Regions from separate parts of the Homo sapiens genome. Here region 2 is linked to region 1. The links are contacts of gene promoters, found by promoter capture Hi-C in human tissues and cell types (Jung and others, 2019). All regions are on one chromosome and are shown on one strand. The core of a region is centred on a gene start or on the middle of the fragment in contact, and the rest is flanking DNA. Distances in the headings are between cores, read along the strand shown. Region 1 holds the start of TANGO6 (transport and golgi organization 6 homolog). Region 2 has its middle 25 kb from the start of MIR1538.

Evidence for each region. Contacts are between HindIII fragments. The study calls those that stand out against the background at their distance.
Region 2: a contact is called between a fragment that was not itself captured here and the fragment with the promoter of TANGO6 in region 1, in 1 of the 25 tissues and cell types used here (stomach).

The regions. Positions count from the first base shown.
Region 1 is chr16:68,840,628-68,847,683 of GRCh38, forward strand. TANGO6 (transport and golgi organization 6 homolog) reads left to right here and starts at 2,904. Exons shown (of 18, transcript NM_024562.2): 1 at 2,904-3,084. The coding sequence starts at 2,991. RefSeq lists an enhancer at 2,875-3,144. The HindIII fragment of the contact is 20,381 bases long and covers 1-7,056 here.
Region 2 is chr16:69,536,865-69,543,920 of GRCh38, forward strand. No RefSeq gene overlaps it. Among named protein-coding and RNA genes, the nearest start is that of MIR1538, 25 kb to the right of the region's middle. The HindIII fragment of the contact is 5,842 bases long and covers 947-6,788 here.

The sequences.
Region 1 (7,056 bases), core at 1,654-4,153:
GACTGGCTAATTTTTGTATTTATTTTATAGAGACAGGGTCTCCCTATGTTGCCCAGCCTGGTGTCAAACTCCTGGGCAAAAGAAATCCTCCCACCTCAGCCTCCCAAAGTGCTGGGATTACAGGAATAAACCACCACACCCGGCCCACACTCTGGATTCTGAGGCCCTGGAATTCCCTGCCCAACCATCCCAGGCCTTCTTCTAGGGCTTTGCAGGACTCTTCCCTGGGTCTGCCCTCTGGATGGTGCACTGTGCTCCCCGTCTGAAGTTTTGTTTTGTTTTTTATTTTTTTGAGACAAAGTCTCCCTTTGTCACCAGGCTGGAGTGTAGTGACGCGACCTCGGTTCACTGCAACCTCCGCCTCCCAGGTTCAAGAGGTTCTCCTGCCTCAGCCTCCCGAGTAGCTGGGACTATAGGCATACATCACTATGCCCAGTGAATTTTTGTATTTTTAGTAGAGATGGGGTTTCGCCATGTCGGCCAGGATGGTCTCAATCTCTTGACCTTGTGATCTACCCGCCTCTGCCTCCCAAAGTGCTGGGATTACAGGTGTGAGCCACCGCGCCCGGCCCCCATCTGCAGTTCTAGACCCAGAGGGGCCAAATGGTAGCTGCTCTGTGGAAGGGATGGGGTGTGGGGTGTGGACAGAACCTGAATGTGCAGGGCTGTGGGTGCCCACACATCTAAGTGCCCAGCCTTCATGGTGCAGGATGGAGATGCTGGTGAGAAGAAAAATGGGTCAGACCAGAGGTCTCCATTGTGGAGCTCTGAGACAGTCTGAGAATTTTGAATTCAAACTTGATAGAATTTTCAAGGTAGGAGGATAGAAAATATTTTAGTTACCAGTCTCTTCGCTTGATTTCTAACACTGAAACATTTAGGCTGGCGGCGTGAGGGCCTCTACCTGTACTTTTGCACCAAACCCCTCAAGCCTTCCCCACACAGTGCTTTACCCCCGTCTCACTAAATGTTTAACATCTCAAAATACTCTTAAAATTTTTTATTTCCCAAATGAACCTGTGCCCATACACAATGGAGAAAACATTGTCTAATGACAAAACCTGGAAAGGAATACACAAAATAAAAAGAGCACAGTGGCAATTTTGTAGGTGATTTATTTCCCATTCAAAAATATTTTTAAGGCCAGAACCGGTGGCTCACGCCTGCAATTTCAGTATTTTGGAAGGTCGAAATGGGCAAATTGCTTGAGCCCAGGAGTTTGAGACCAGCCTGGGTGACATGGTGAAACGCCATCTCTACAAAAATTAGCCGGGTGTGGTGGCATGCATCTGTAGTCCCAGCTACTTGGGAGGCTGAGGCGGGAGGATCACTTGAGCAGGGGAGGCAGAAGTTGGAGTGAGCCAAGATCACACCACTGCACTTCAGCCCGGGTGACAGTGAGATTCTGTCTCACACACACACACAAGATTTTATTCGGAAGGCTGAGGCAGGAGGATCACTTGAGGCCAGGAGTTTGAGACAAGTCTGGGCAACATAGAGACTCCATCTCTAAAAAAAAATTTTTAGCGTTTTTCCCTCTCAGGCCCTGCATTCCAAAATGACAAAGAAAAGAAGAAACAAGAGTCATGCCAAAAAGGGTAATAGCTATGCGCAGCTTATTCTCGCCCAAGGACCGGACCATTAAGAAGTTTGTCCTTTGGGCCGGGCGCAGTGGCTCACGCCTGTAATCCCAGCACTTTGGGAGGCCCAGGTGGGCAGGTCACTTGAGGTGAGGAGCTCAAGACCAGCCTAGCCAAGAGGGCGAAACCTTGTCTCCACAAAAAATACAAAAATTAGCCGGGCATGCTGGGGCACTCCAGTAATCCCAGCTACTCGGGGGGCTGAGGCCAGATAATTGTTTCAGCCTGGGAGGCAGAGGTTGCAGTGAGCCGAGATCACGCCACTGAACTCCAGCCTAGGCGACAGAGCGAGACCCCATCTCAAAAAATAAAATAAAAATAAAGGTCCTGCCCTCAAAAACATTGTCCTGTGTCTGCGGCATGACTTTCAGACAACATGGTTTTTCAACGTCCCACCAGGATTTATGTAGGTGAAAACCTGTTTCCGATAATCTGAATCTCAAATCCATTCTGTTTTACATATAAAAACAGTTTGGCGGAGGGCATGGTTTTGATAGACCCTGAATTTTCGAGGAATGCATCAACCATGAAAACAGAACACAGATCGAACTTTTACTGGGAACTTTACTAAGTTCACTGAAAAAAAAAATCATATTACCCATAACAACATTTGTAGCTTTACATTCACGATGGATATATATGCGTGTGTACGTCTGTACTTAGGTTTTGTTTGTTTGTTTGTTTTGAGATGGAGTCTCGCTCTGTCGCCCAGGCTGGAGTGCAGTGGTGTGATCTCGGCTCACTGCAACCTCGACCTCCCAGCTTCGAGCGATTCTCCTGCCTCAGCCTCCCGGGTAGCTGGGACTACAGGCGCCCGCCACCACGCCTGGCTAATTTTTGTATGTTTAGTAGAGACGGGGTTTCACCATATCGGACAGGTTGGTCTCAAACTCCTGACCTTGTGATCTGCCCGCCTCGGCCTCCCAGAGTGCTGCGATTACAGGTGTGAGCCACCGCGCCCAGCCTGAATATTGTTTTTCTTATCCATACTTCACTGTAAGCAGATGGAAGCATCTGTCTGCTTCATTATGTCTGCCAGTGTTGAGTACCTGAGTATTTTCATATTGAAATATAGCTTTAATGATACATTACTTCTCTCTTCCTTCTTTACATAGCGGTTAATCATATTGAGCTTCTGAAATTGTGCGCGTGGGCAGATTAGCCATTTTTGGGTTCCCTCTTACCCCCCGGACTAAGCCGGGACGGAAAAAAAATGTGAAGGGGGCGTTCCCGATCGATTTGGCCCCGCCCCATAGTGTGCCCAGAGCCTTCTGCCACACTTAACATGGCGGCGGCGGCGCCCTGCCGAGGCGCCTGAGCGGGTCGCGAGCGTGGTGTTACACTCCAGTCATGGCGGCCCGACAGGCCGTGGGCAGCGGGGCTCAGGAGACATGCGGTCTGGATCGGATTTTGGAGGCATTGAAGCTGCTGCTGAGCCCGGGAGGTGAGAGGACGCATCTCCGCGCCGGGCTGGACCCGGGACTCTCAGGGCCGCCCGGCTTCCGGGGCTGCCCTGCCTTCCGCAGCGTGCGCCCCTTAGGCCCGCCTCGGGACCCTCCGCCCGCTGCTGGGGGCTTTGAGCATTGTCTATGCCCGTCCTCATTACGTTCTTGAGGAAACTGAGGCTCAAGGAGGGCGCGGGATCCGTTGACTGCTGATATTAGCCAACATCTCTTGAGCATTTGCCTTGTGCTGGGCTCTGTCAGGCGGGGCCGTTATTTCATTCAGTGCTTACTGCAGCGCTCTTGGGAGGGGGATATGGACCCAGCTCCAGAGAGGGTAGGGCGCCCGCGACGTAGAAATGTGAGGTCCTAGCCGCGTGAGGGCGCAGGGGCCAGCATGGACCCTTGAGATTTGTACGAAATGCCAAGAAGTCCAGACATCGGAAGCAGTGACGTTTGAAATGGGTTTGGGGAGAGTATTTAGGGGTTACCAGGCGCTTTTAATCTTTGTGGTGCGTGGACAGTTTCTTCCCAGTCTAAAATCTGAAGGGATATTGGGAGTGGTTGAAGCTGCTACTCCTTTTGCGACTGAGGACACCCAAGGCTCACTGAAGAAATTAAGTAACCTGTCCAAGATCACGTGGTCAAATTAGGGGCAGAACACGGACCTAGGCCCGAGATCTACTGAACCCCCTTCTCAGAATCAGACAAATTGTTCAGTATAGGGGCTCTGATGTTATCTGGAGCTTTTGGAAAGGACGTGGAAGATAGAGCTCTGCTTATCACTGGGGTGTATATTTGGGGGAAGGGATGGGAAGGGATCTGTAGAATTAGCAAGGGCACATGAAAGGCCAAAGGGGATCACCTCCCAGTCTCAGATTTTATACTTAAAACTGCAAAAACTTCTGCAAACATTACACCACACCAGCGGGAAGTGAACACAAGTTACTAATATTAGTAAATGAGTGCCTACTAAGTATCAGTCCCCATAGTAGGCTGTTGACATACACATCATTTAATCCTCATTACGATCCCCTGGGATCGGTACTACTTGTATTCAATTTTTACGGATGAAGGACCAAGGTTCAGGTACATTGGAAATTGCCCAATGTCAGACTAGTAAGTGGCAGAATTTGAATTTAGGTTATTTCCACTAAAAGTATGGTAAATATGCTACATTGTCTCAATTAAGAGTCAGACTGCAAAATAGAATTTTAAGTTGCTAATCGAGAGGTCACTTGTCTTCTAACGGCAACTCTTTTTTTTTTTTTTTTTTGAGATGAGGTCTCACTCTGTTGCCCAGGCTGGAGTGCAGTGGCACAATCTCGGCTCACTGCAACCTCTGCCTCCCAGGTTCAAGCGATTCTCCTGCTTCAGCCTCCCGAGTAGCTGGGATTACAGGTGCACACCACCATGCCCAGCTAATTTTTGTCTTTTTAGTAGAGACGGAGTTTTGCCATGTTGGCCAGGCTGGTCTCGAACTCCTGACCTCAAGTGATCTGCCTGCCTTGGCCTCCCAAAGTGCTGGGATTACAGGCCTGAGCCACTACACCTGGCCTGCAACTCTCTATTGTATGACTGAGAACACGTTTAAATAAGCAAAAATCCTGAAAGTAATCATCTGTTATGAAACATGTATATTATGCTTCATTTATAGAAGACTCTCTAATCTCTATGAGTATGTGGTGGAGTACACATATATGTACTCATTTAATTTACAGAAATTCAAGCATTCCTATTTGAAGAGGAATTAGTTCGTGAAATTATATTATTTTGTACATGTAGTCTTATATATTATATGAATCTGTCTACTATTTTATCATATTAGCTGCTTAGGGAATTTAAAAATATCTGTAGTGGCTGGGCGAGGTGGGCCATACCTGTAATCCCAGCACTTTGGGAGGCTGAGGCAGGATCCCAGGAGTTTGAGACCAGACTGGGCAACATAGTGATACTCTGTGTCTACAAAAAACTAAAAAATTGGCCAGGCATGGTACTACACACCTGTGGTCCCAGCTACTGGGGAGGCTGAGATGGGAGGATTGCTTGAGCCTGAGAGGTCCAAGTCTAGGCTGTGGTGAACCATGATTACACTAGTGTGCTCCGGCCTTGGGTGACAGAGTAAGACCCTATTTTGTTTTTTGTTTTTTGTTTTTTTTTTGAGACAGAGTTTCACTCCATCACCCAGGCTGGAGTGCAGTGGCATGATCTTGACACACCGGAACCCCCACCTCCCGGGTTCGAGCAATTCTCATGCCTCAGCCTCCCTTGTAGCTGGGACTATAGGCACCCACCACCATGCCTGGCTAATTTTTGTACTTTTATTATTTTTTGAGATGGAATTTCGCTCTTGTTGCCCAGGCTGGAGTGCAGTGGCGCAATCTCAGCTCACTGCAACCTCCACCTCCCAGGTTCAAGTGATTCTTCTACCTCAGCCTCCCGAGTAGCTGGGATTACAGGCATGCGCCACATGCCCGGCTAATTTTTTGTACTTTTAATAGAGACGGCGTTTCACCATGTTGGCCAGGCGAGTCTCGAACTCCTGACCTCAGGTGATCTGCCTGCCTTGACCTCCCAGAGTACTAGGATTAGGATTACAGGCGCGAGCCACCATGCCCAACCTCAAGAAGTCAGCTGGATTTTCATATCTGCTTCTCCAGTCTGTCATGATAGGTTGTTTTGACTGAAGTACATGAAGAAAACCTAGACTCACATAGATATGTAACTGGAAAAGGGAGGAGAGTTCAATCACCTTTTCAAATAATTATGTACATTCTTTTATACGATTCTTTCTTTTTTTTTTTTAGACGGAGTCTTGCTCTGTCGCCCAAGCTGGAGTGCAGTGGTGCGATCTCGGCTCACTGCAACCTCCGCCTCCCAGGTTCAAGCAATTCTCCTGCCCCAGCCTCCCGAGTAATTGGGACAACAGGCACATGCCACTGTGCCTGGCTAATTTTCTTTTTTTTTTTTTTTTTTTAGTAGAGACAGGTTTTCACCATATTGGCCAGGCTGGTCTGGAACTCATGACTTCGTAATCCTCCCGCCTCGGCCTCCCGAAGTGCTGGGATTACAGATGTGAGCCACCACGTCCGGTCTTTTATACAATTCTAAAGCTCAACAAGATAATCTCTGCATGTATTGTGTGGGGAAAAAAGTATCGAGAAACTCAACAAGAGGTAATACCTTTTTTTTTTTTTTGTGGCGGAGTTTCGCTCTTGTTGCCCAGGATGGAATGCAGTGGCGTGATCTCGGCTCATTGCCACCTCCGCCTCCCGGATTCAAGCGATTCTCCTGCCTCAGCCTTCGGAGTAGCTGGGATTACAGACATGCGCCACCACGCCCTGCTAATTTTGTATTTTTAGTAGAGATGGGGTTTCTCTACGTTGGTCAGGCTGGTCTCGAACTCCTGACTTCAAGTGATCTGCCCACCTCAGCCTCCCAAAGTGCTGGGATTACAGGCGTGAGCCACCGCGCCCGGCCAAAGAGGTAATATATTAAAGATTTGTTGCAATATGAAATCAGAACTCATATCAATAAGCCTCATAGTACATTCTTGAGAATCTAAAAGGCACATCATGACCTAGTATTATTATGAAATGGTTTTGACCTTGCAGACCCCCTGAGAGGGTCTTGGGAACCCCCGGCAAGCCAGGTCCCCATAGCATACTAGGAACTGCTACTTTATGGAAATGCCTCCAATTTATTTCCAAGTAGATGTTATTTTCATCACCAGTAGAGGGCAGAGAAGACTACTTCATTAAAGGGGCTCTGGAAAAACTTCAGTAAGAGCTTTTGTTTTAAATCACTTTCTTTGTGTTCCATGTTTGGGTTCGAAGATCTTATGCCACAGGAAGTCATTTAGAGGTTGGTTAGTGATCTTAACGGTTAGTGGCAACAAGAGGGAAATAACACTCATTTCCGTTTGAGGTATACATTAGCCAAAGGAACCAGATATTCATGCCAGTGGGTCAGAA
Region 2 (7,056 bases), core at 2,618-5,117, 700 kb after region 1:
ATCCAGACCATCCTGACTAACATGATGAAAATACACTAAAAATACAAAAAATTAGCCAGGCATGGTGGCATACGCCTGTAGTCCCAGCTACTAGGGAGGCTGAGGCAGGAGAATCACTTGAACCTGGGAGACAGAGGTTCCAGTGAGCTGAGATCGTGCCACTGCACTCCAGCCTGGGTGACAGAGCGAGACTCCGTCAAAAAAAAAAAAAAAAGTGGGTAGGGCAAGAGATCATTAAGCTCCCTCTCTCACAGTCCAGGCCCACTGATTTTCGGGGGAGACAAAATGAGGAAGTCACAGTAGGATGCAAAGTCATTTAAAACAGAATTCTCAAAACATTAAAATAGATGCCCTAGCTCCAAGGAGTCCCTTTTGGCCTCATTAAGGAACAGTTAAAGATCTGATCACATCTTTGAACTGGGGACTCCTGAATCCCGTGACCACTGAGAATGAAGACATTTGCTCATCTCACATGTCTTTTCCATTTCTCTCTACTAGGATTTATTGTGTTGTAAAAGGCTTGGTGCGAGGCAGAGGGAGAGTTTATCCAAATCCTTTGAGAAATCAGAGAATGTGGTAAATCCTGATTCTCATTTTGCTCTATTGTTTATGACCTCCAGATCTCTGGTGAGGAAGACAGGATCTACAGCTGGTCTCCATTTCTTACTAGCTGGTTTAGTCTTAAGTTCATGGCCGCTTGCCCAGGCTGTGCCAGCTGAGTGTGCTTTAGATAGCAGCATCTGAAATGGATAATTATGCATCAAAGCCAGCCTACCTTACCTCTCCTAAAGGAACCTGATGTCTCACTTCCTTTCTCCAAGATCATGGCATACACCTGTTTATACAGAATTGTGTCCATTGCAGGCAAGTTCTGTCCATGTTTGGCTAAAAGAGGAGGCAATGTCGTCACATCCCCAGGGAAGCTTTTCTCATCTACCCCTTAAAGATTAGGTCAGGCCCCTTGTTAAAGCTTTCAAAGAATCCCACACATCCCTATCACAGCAGTCAGCACACTTGTCATCATTTAAATAATTTGTTATAATTTGATTAATGTCCGTATTTCCTTGTGGTTCTCAATAGGGACAATTTTGTCCCCAGGGAACATTTGCAATGTCTAAAGATATCTTTGGTTGTCACAACTGGAGGGAGGCAGGATGGAGGGATGTTTTTGGCATTTAGTGGATAGAGATCAGGGATTCTGCTAAACATTTTAAAATGTACAAGACTAGGCCAGGCACAGTGGCTCATGCCTATAATCCCAGCACTTTGGGAGGCCGAGGTGGGTGGATCACCTGAGGCCAGGAGTTTGAGACCAGCCTGGCCAACAAGGTAAAACCCCACCTCTACTAAAAATACGGAAATCAGCCAGGCATGGTGGCATGAACCTGTAATCCCAGCTACTCAGGAGACTGAGGCAGAAGAACTGCTTAAACCTGGGAGACACAGGTGGCAGTGAGCCGAAATGGTGCCATTGCACTCCAGCCTGGGCGACAAGACAGAAACTCCGTCTCCAAAAAAAAAAAAAAAAGAAAAAGAAAGAAAAGATAGAATGTATAAGACAGCCCCCAGAAGAAAGAATGAGCCATCCAAGATGTCCACAGTGTTGAGAAACCCTACTGCAGATTGTGCATTCCACAAGAAGAGGGATTATATCTTTTTGTTTGCCACTGAACCCAGTCCTCACACAGAGTCTGTGACGGAAAAGGTATTTGGTGCGTAGATGATGACTGACACCTGCCTATTCTGTCCTCTGGGCCTGGGATAGCATCAGATTACATTTTGTTTCCCAAGGGCTGAAACCATTTTACATATAGTAAGCAAATGATTCCAAATGAATGAATACTTTGTAAATGAATGAACGAATGAGTCCATCCATCCATTCATTCATCCATCCATTCATCCATCCATTCATCCATGACCCAAATGGGCCCTCATGCCAAGAATACATCAATAGTAGTCGTCTGACACCAGCTTTGGTTTTACCACTACCCAGCTAAGTGATCTTATGAATTTGGCATGTATTTGTCTAGATCAGCATTGTCCAGTAGAACATCCTACAATTATGGAAATGTTATATATCTGTGTAGTCCAAAACAGAAGCCACTAGCCATAGTTACTAATGGACTCTCAAAATATGGCTAGTGTGACTAATTCATTTAATTTAAATAGCCACATGTGGCTAGTAGCTACTGTATTAGCACAGGTCTAGACCTTTTAGAAGATTTTTACATTCAAGATCATATTACATATATTATACCCATGTAAAATAGTTTTGTTGCATGAGTTTTTATACAAATATATGTTTCACAGGTTCTGTAACTTGGCTGTTTCACTCATTCTGCTTTCGACATCTGTCCTGTTAGATCTAGCTCATTTCTTTTATCTACTGCATAGTGCTTTGTGGTATGACTATTTTATGTTTTGGTAGCCATTCTCCTACTGATGGATATTTTGGCTGTTTCAGGTTTTTTTTGTTGTTGTTGTTACAAACAATGCTGCAATGAACATCTCTGTATTGTCTCCTTAGAGGTCTTAGTCCATTTTCTGTTGCTATAACAGGATATCACAGTCTGGGTAATTTATAAAGAAAAAAACTATTTAGCTTACAGTTCTGGAGGCTGGGAAGTTTAAGAGCATGGCTCTAGCCTCTGGTGATGCCTTCTTGCTTCTTCATAACATGGTAGAGGGCATCACATGGCAAGAAGAGAAGAGTGTGTGTGTGTGCTCAGATCTTTCTTCCTCTTCTTTTTTTTTTTTTGAGACAGAGTCTCGCCCTGTCACCCAGGCTGGAGTGCAGTGGCGCAATCTTGGCTCACTGCAAGCTCTGCCCACTGAGTTCATGCCATTCTCCTGCCTCAGCCTCTTGAGTAGCTGGGAATACAGGCACCTGCCACTACGCCCAGCTAATTTTTTGTATGTTTAGTAGAGACGGGGTTTCACCATGTTAGCCAGGATGGTTTTGATCTCCTGACCTCATGATCCACCCGCCTTTGCCTCCCAAAGTCCTGGGGTTACAGGCGGTGTGAGCCACCGTGCCCGGCCTCTTCCTCTTCTTATAAAACCACCAGTCCCACTCTGGGGACCCCACCAAGATAATCTTATCTAATCTTAACTACCTCACTAAAGCCCCAATCAACATGCAAATTTGGATTAAATTTTGAACACCTGAAATTTGGGGGACACAGTCAAACCATAGCATTAGGCTCCTCCTTGTTAGCTCTTAAGAGGGAAATTACATCACAGTATATGCATAAGTGTAATTTTATTAGTTCTGCCAGGAGAGTGCCATAATTTGTAAAACAAGGATTCAGTGATTTCTAAGGTTTCTTCCTCCAGCATAAAACCCAATTCTTCTGGAACAATAGAGGTGAGAGACTGACTTTAAACTTTTGGCAATCATCTAGTCTATGCTGTGCTCAGTCAGATGCAATGGAAACAGATAATATCCAGGGTCATATGTTCCCAGTTGTCCCCTCTCTGGGTCCCTGGGAAGAGAAAGCTCTATAAAACATCAGATCAAATTTTCTTTTAATCCTCTAAGTAATAAAGTGGATAAAAGTTTCTGGCAGTGGAAAACTCCAATTATTTAATTACATTAAAATAAATCTGTCACTAAACTTGGAAACCCAAGCTTTGCTTGCCCAGATAGCAAAAAAGTAAAAAGGTTTCCATGCTGCACAGTTTTTCTAACTTCCCCCATGTGGTTGTGACTTAGAGTCATTTTACCCATTCACACCTGCTGTTACCCAGTTGTTAATATCAATGCAATTAATAATAATTGTAAGAGAAACTATCTAATTCCAGCAAATACCTCATTTCTACTAGTTTGAATGTGTCAGTTGTCTTGGGGCAGGAACCACAATTCAGTATTTTAGAATATACACATATGCAGGCAAATATATATTCTACTCTTTAGAAATTAAGTTTACAATAGACCTTGATATTTTGTCCATTACTCATGTTCACATGATTTAAATCTTAGGAGAGGGCTTTAATCCACTTATCTGGGTGGGGAAATATTGTTAGAAAAATGTGGGCTTGGCTGGGTGCTGTGGCTCTTGCCTGTAACCCCAGCACTTTGGGAGGCCGAGGTGGGCGGATCACTTGAGGCCAGGAGTTCGAGACCAGCCTGGCCAACATGGCGAAACCCCATCTCTACTAAAAATACAAAAATTAGCCAGGCATGGTGGCACGTGCCTGTAATCCTAGCTACTCGGGAGGCTGAGGTGAGATAACTGCTTAAACCTGGGAGGTGGAGATTGCAGTGAGTCGAGATCATGCCACTGCACTCCAGCCTGGGCGACAGAGCGAGACTCTGACTCAAAAAAAAAAAAAAAAAAAGAATAAAAAAAAATGTGGGCTTTTCTATCACCTATTTAATTGCAGATACTTGTTACTGAGTGTTGATTCTATACTGACATTAACTAACCTCCAGGTATTAGGATTAAGTTTGCTAAAAACAAAACTTCCGAACAAAACAGAAAGATCTAGTGTTTTCCCTCCCATTACAGATTTGCTTATTATGAAAACTTTGGAAATTATAGAAAAGCAGAAGGAAGAATAAAAGGATGATCACTATTACTATTTTGGTGTAGTTCCTTCCCATTTTTTCTTCTTCTTCGTCTTCATCTCCATCTCTGTCTCCTCCTCCTCCTTCTCCTTCTTCTCTTTTTTTTTTTTTTTTTGAGACAGTTTTGCTCTGTTGTTCAGGCTGGAGTAATCACTGCTCATTGCAGCCTCCACCTCCTGGGCTCAAGTGATCCTCCCACCTCAGCCTCCTGAGTAGCTGGGACTACAGGAGTGTGCCACCATGCCTAGCATGAAAATAATTTTTTTTTTATTTTTGAAGAGACAGGGTCTCCCTATGTTGTCCAGGCTGGTCTTGAACTCCTGGGCTTAAGCGATCCTCCCGCTTCAGCCTCCCAAAATGCTGGGATTCCAGGTATGAGCCACTATACCCAGACCCATTTTTTCTTCAGAAAATCTTTTATATTTTGAGATTTTTTTTTTTGAGATGGAGTTTCGCTCTTGTCGCCCAGGCTGGAGTGCAATGACGCGATCTCAGCTCACTGCAACCTCTATCTTCTGGGTTCAAGCGATTCTCCTGCCTCAGCCTCCCGAGTAGCTGGGATTACAGGCATGTGCCACCACACCCAGCTAATTTTTGTATGTTTAGTAGAGATGGGGTTTCACCATGTTGGCTGGTCTCAAACTCCTGACCTCAGGTGATCCACCTGCCTCGGCCTCCCAAAGTGCTGGGATTACAGGCATGAGCCATTGCACCCGGCCTCAAGAAATTTTTAAAATACAGAAAAGCACAAAGACTTTTTAAAAAAATCACACCCATATTTTCACCATCTAGAAATAATCATTAACATTTTGTCATATTTGCTACCAGTGTTTTATTTGTTTCTACCTTTGTAAAACAAAAAACAAAACAAAAAAGCCCTGAAATATTGCAGATAAATCCAAAGACAGATTTAACCACCATCCCCTACAATGAGGCTGAAATTTTTACTTCCATTTCTAAAAAAAAAAGTATGTATAGAGTGTATATATGTACATAAATCATAAACATTCATATAAAGATATACATATATATATATATATTTTTTTTTTTTTTTTTGAGACGGAGTCTTGCTCTGTTGCCCAGGCTGGAGTGCAGTAGCGCAATCTCGGGTCACTGCACCTCTGCCTCCTGGGTTCAAGCAATTCTCCTGCCTCAGCCTCCTGAGTAGCTGGGATTACAGGCGCCCACCACCACACCCAGCTAATTTTTGTATTTTTAGTAGAGACAGGGTTTCGCCATGTTGGCCAGGCTTGTCTCAAGCTCCTGACCTCAGGTGATCCACCCGCCTCAGCCTCCCAAACTGCTGGGATTACAGGCATGAGCCACAAGGTACATATATTTTATATAAAACAGTATGTAGTATTCTTTTGAGTGTTTTTTTTAATTACCCATATTTATAGGTTTGTTTTTTGATATGGGGTCTCACTATGCTGTCCAGGCTGTACACAAACCCCTGGGCTCAAGCAACTCTCCTGCCTCAACCTCCTGAGGACTGGGACTAAGGTTAGCACCACCATGCCCAGCTTATATAGCTGTTGTTTCAATATATAGTGATCATATAGAGTTGTTTAGATGTATAATATATTGATAGTATACCTGTTGTTTTGCATCTTAATGTCCCTCTTGAGGAATGGGAATCCTGAGCTGTATAGGAGAATAAAACTTCAGTCCTCTCATCTGTAAGATGATAATAATAGTAATGTGATATTGTGAAATATGTGTTTGGTCTTCATCCAATTTGCTGACATACAACTCCTAAAATCCTTCAAAGTGATGTGTGTTTTAGTCTGCTAATAAGTTGACTGGTGACTTGGCAGCCTCTAGGTAGCTTCAGGATGTGAGCTGGTCCCAGAAAGACCCAGGCATGATTAGAGGATTGGGACTTTCAGCCCCACCCTTCAACTTCTGGGGAGGGGTAAGGGGCTGAGGGTTAAGTTGATCGCCAATGTCCAATGGCTTAATCAATCATGCTTATGTAATGAAGCCTCCATAAAAACCCAAAAAGACAGGGTTCAGAGACCTTCTGATTAGCTGGACACATGGAGGTTCCTGGAGGGTGGCACCCCAGAGAGGACATGGAAACTCTGCCCTTTTCCCCATACCTCACCCAATGCATCTCTTCATCTGTATCCTTTGCAATACCCTTTACAATAAACCAGTAAATGTAAACATTTGTTTCCCTGAGTTCTGTGAGCTACTCTAGAAAATTAATCAAACCTGAGGAGGGGGTTGTGAGAACCCCTATTTATATCTGGTTGGTCAGAAGCATGGGAAAAACAACCTGGGACTTGTGTTTGGCATCAGAAAGTGGGGGGCAGACTTGTGGGACTGAGCCCTCGACCTGTGGGATCTGACACTATCTCTAGGTAGGCAGTGTTAGAATTGAATTGAATTAGAAGACACCTGACTTGAGGTCAGGAGCTCAAGACCAGCCTGGACAACATGGCGAAACCCTGTCTCTACTAAAAATACAAAAATTAGCTGGG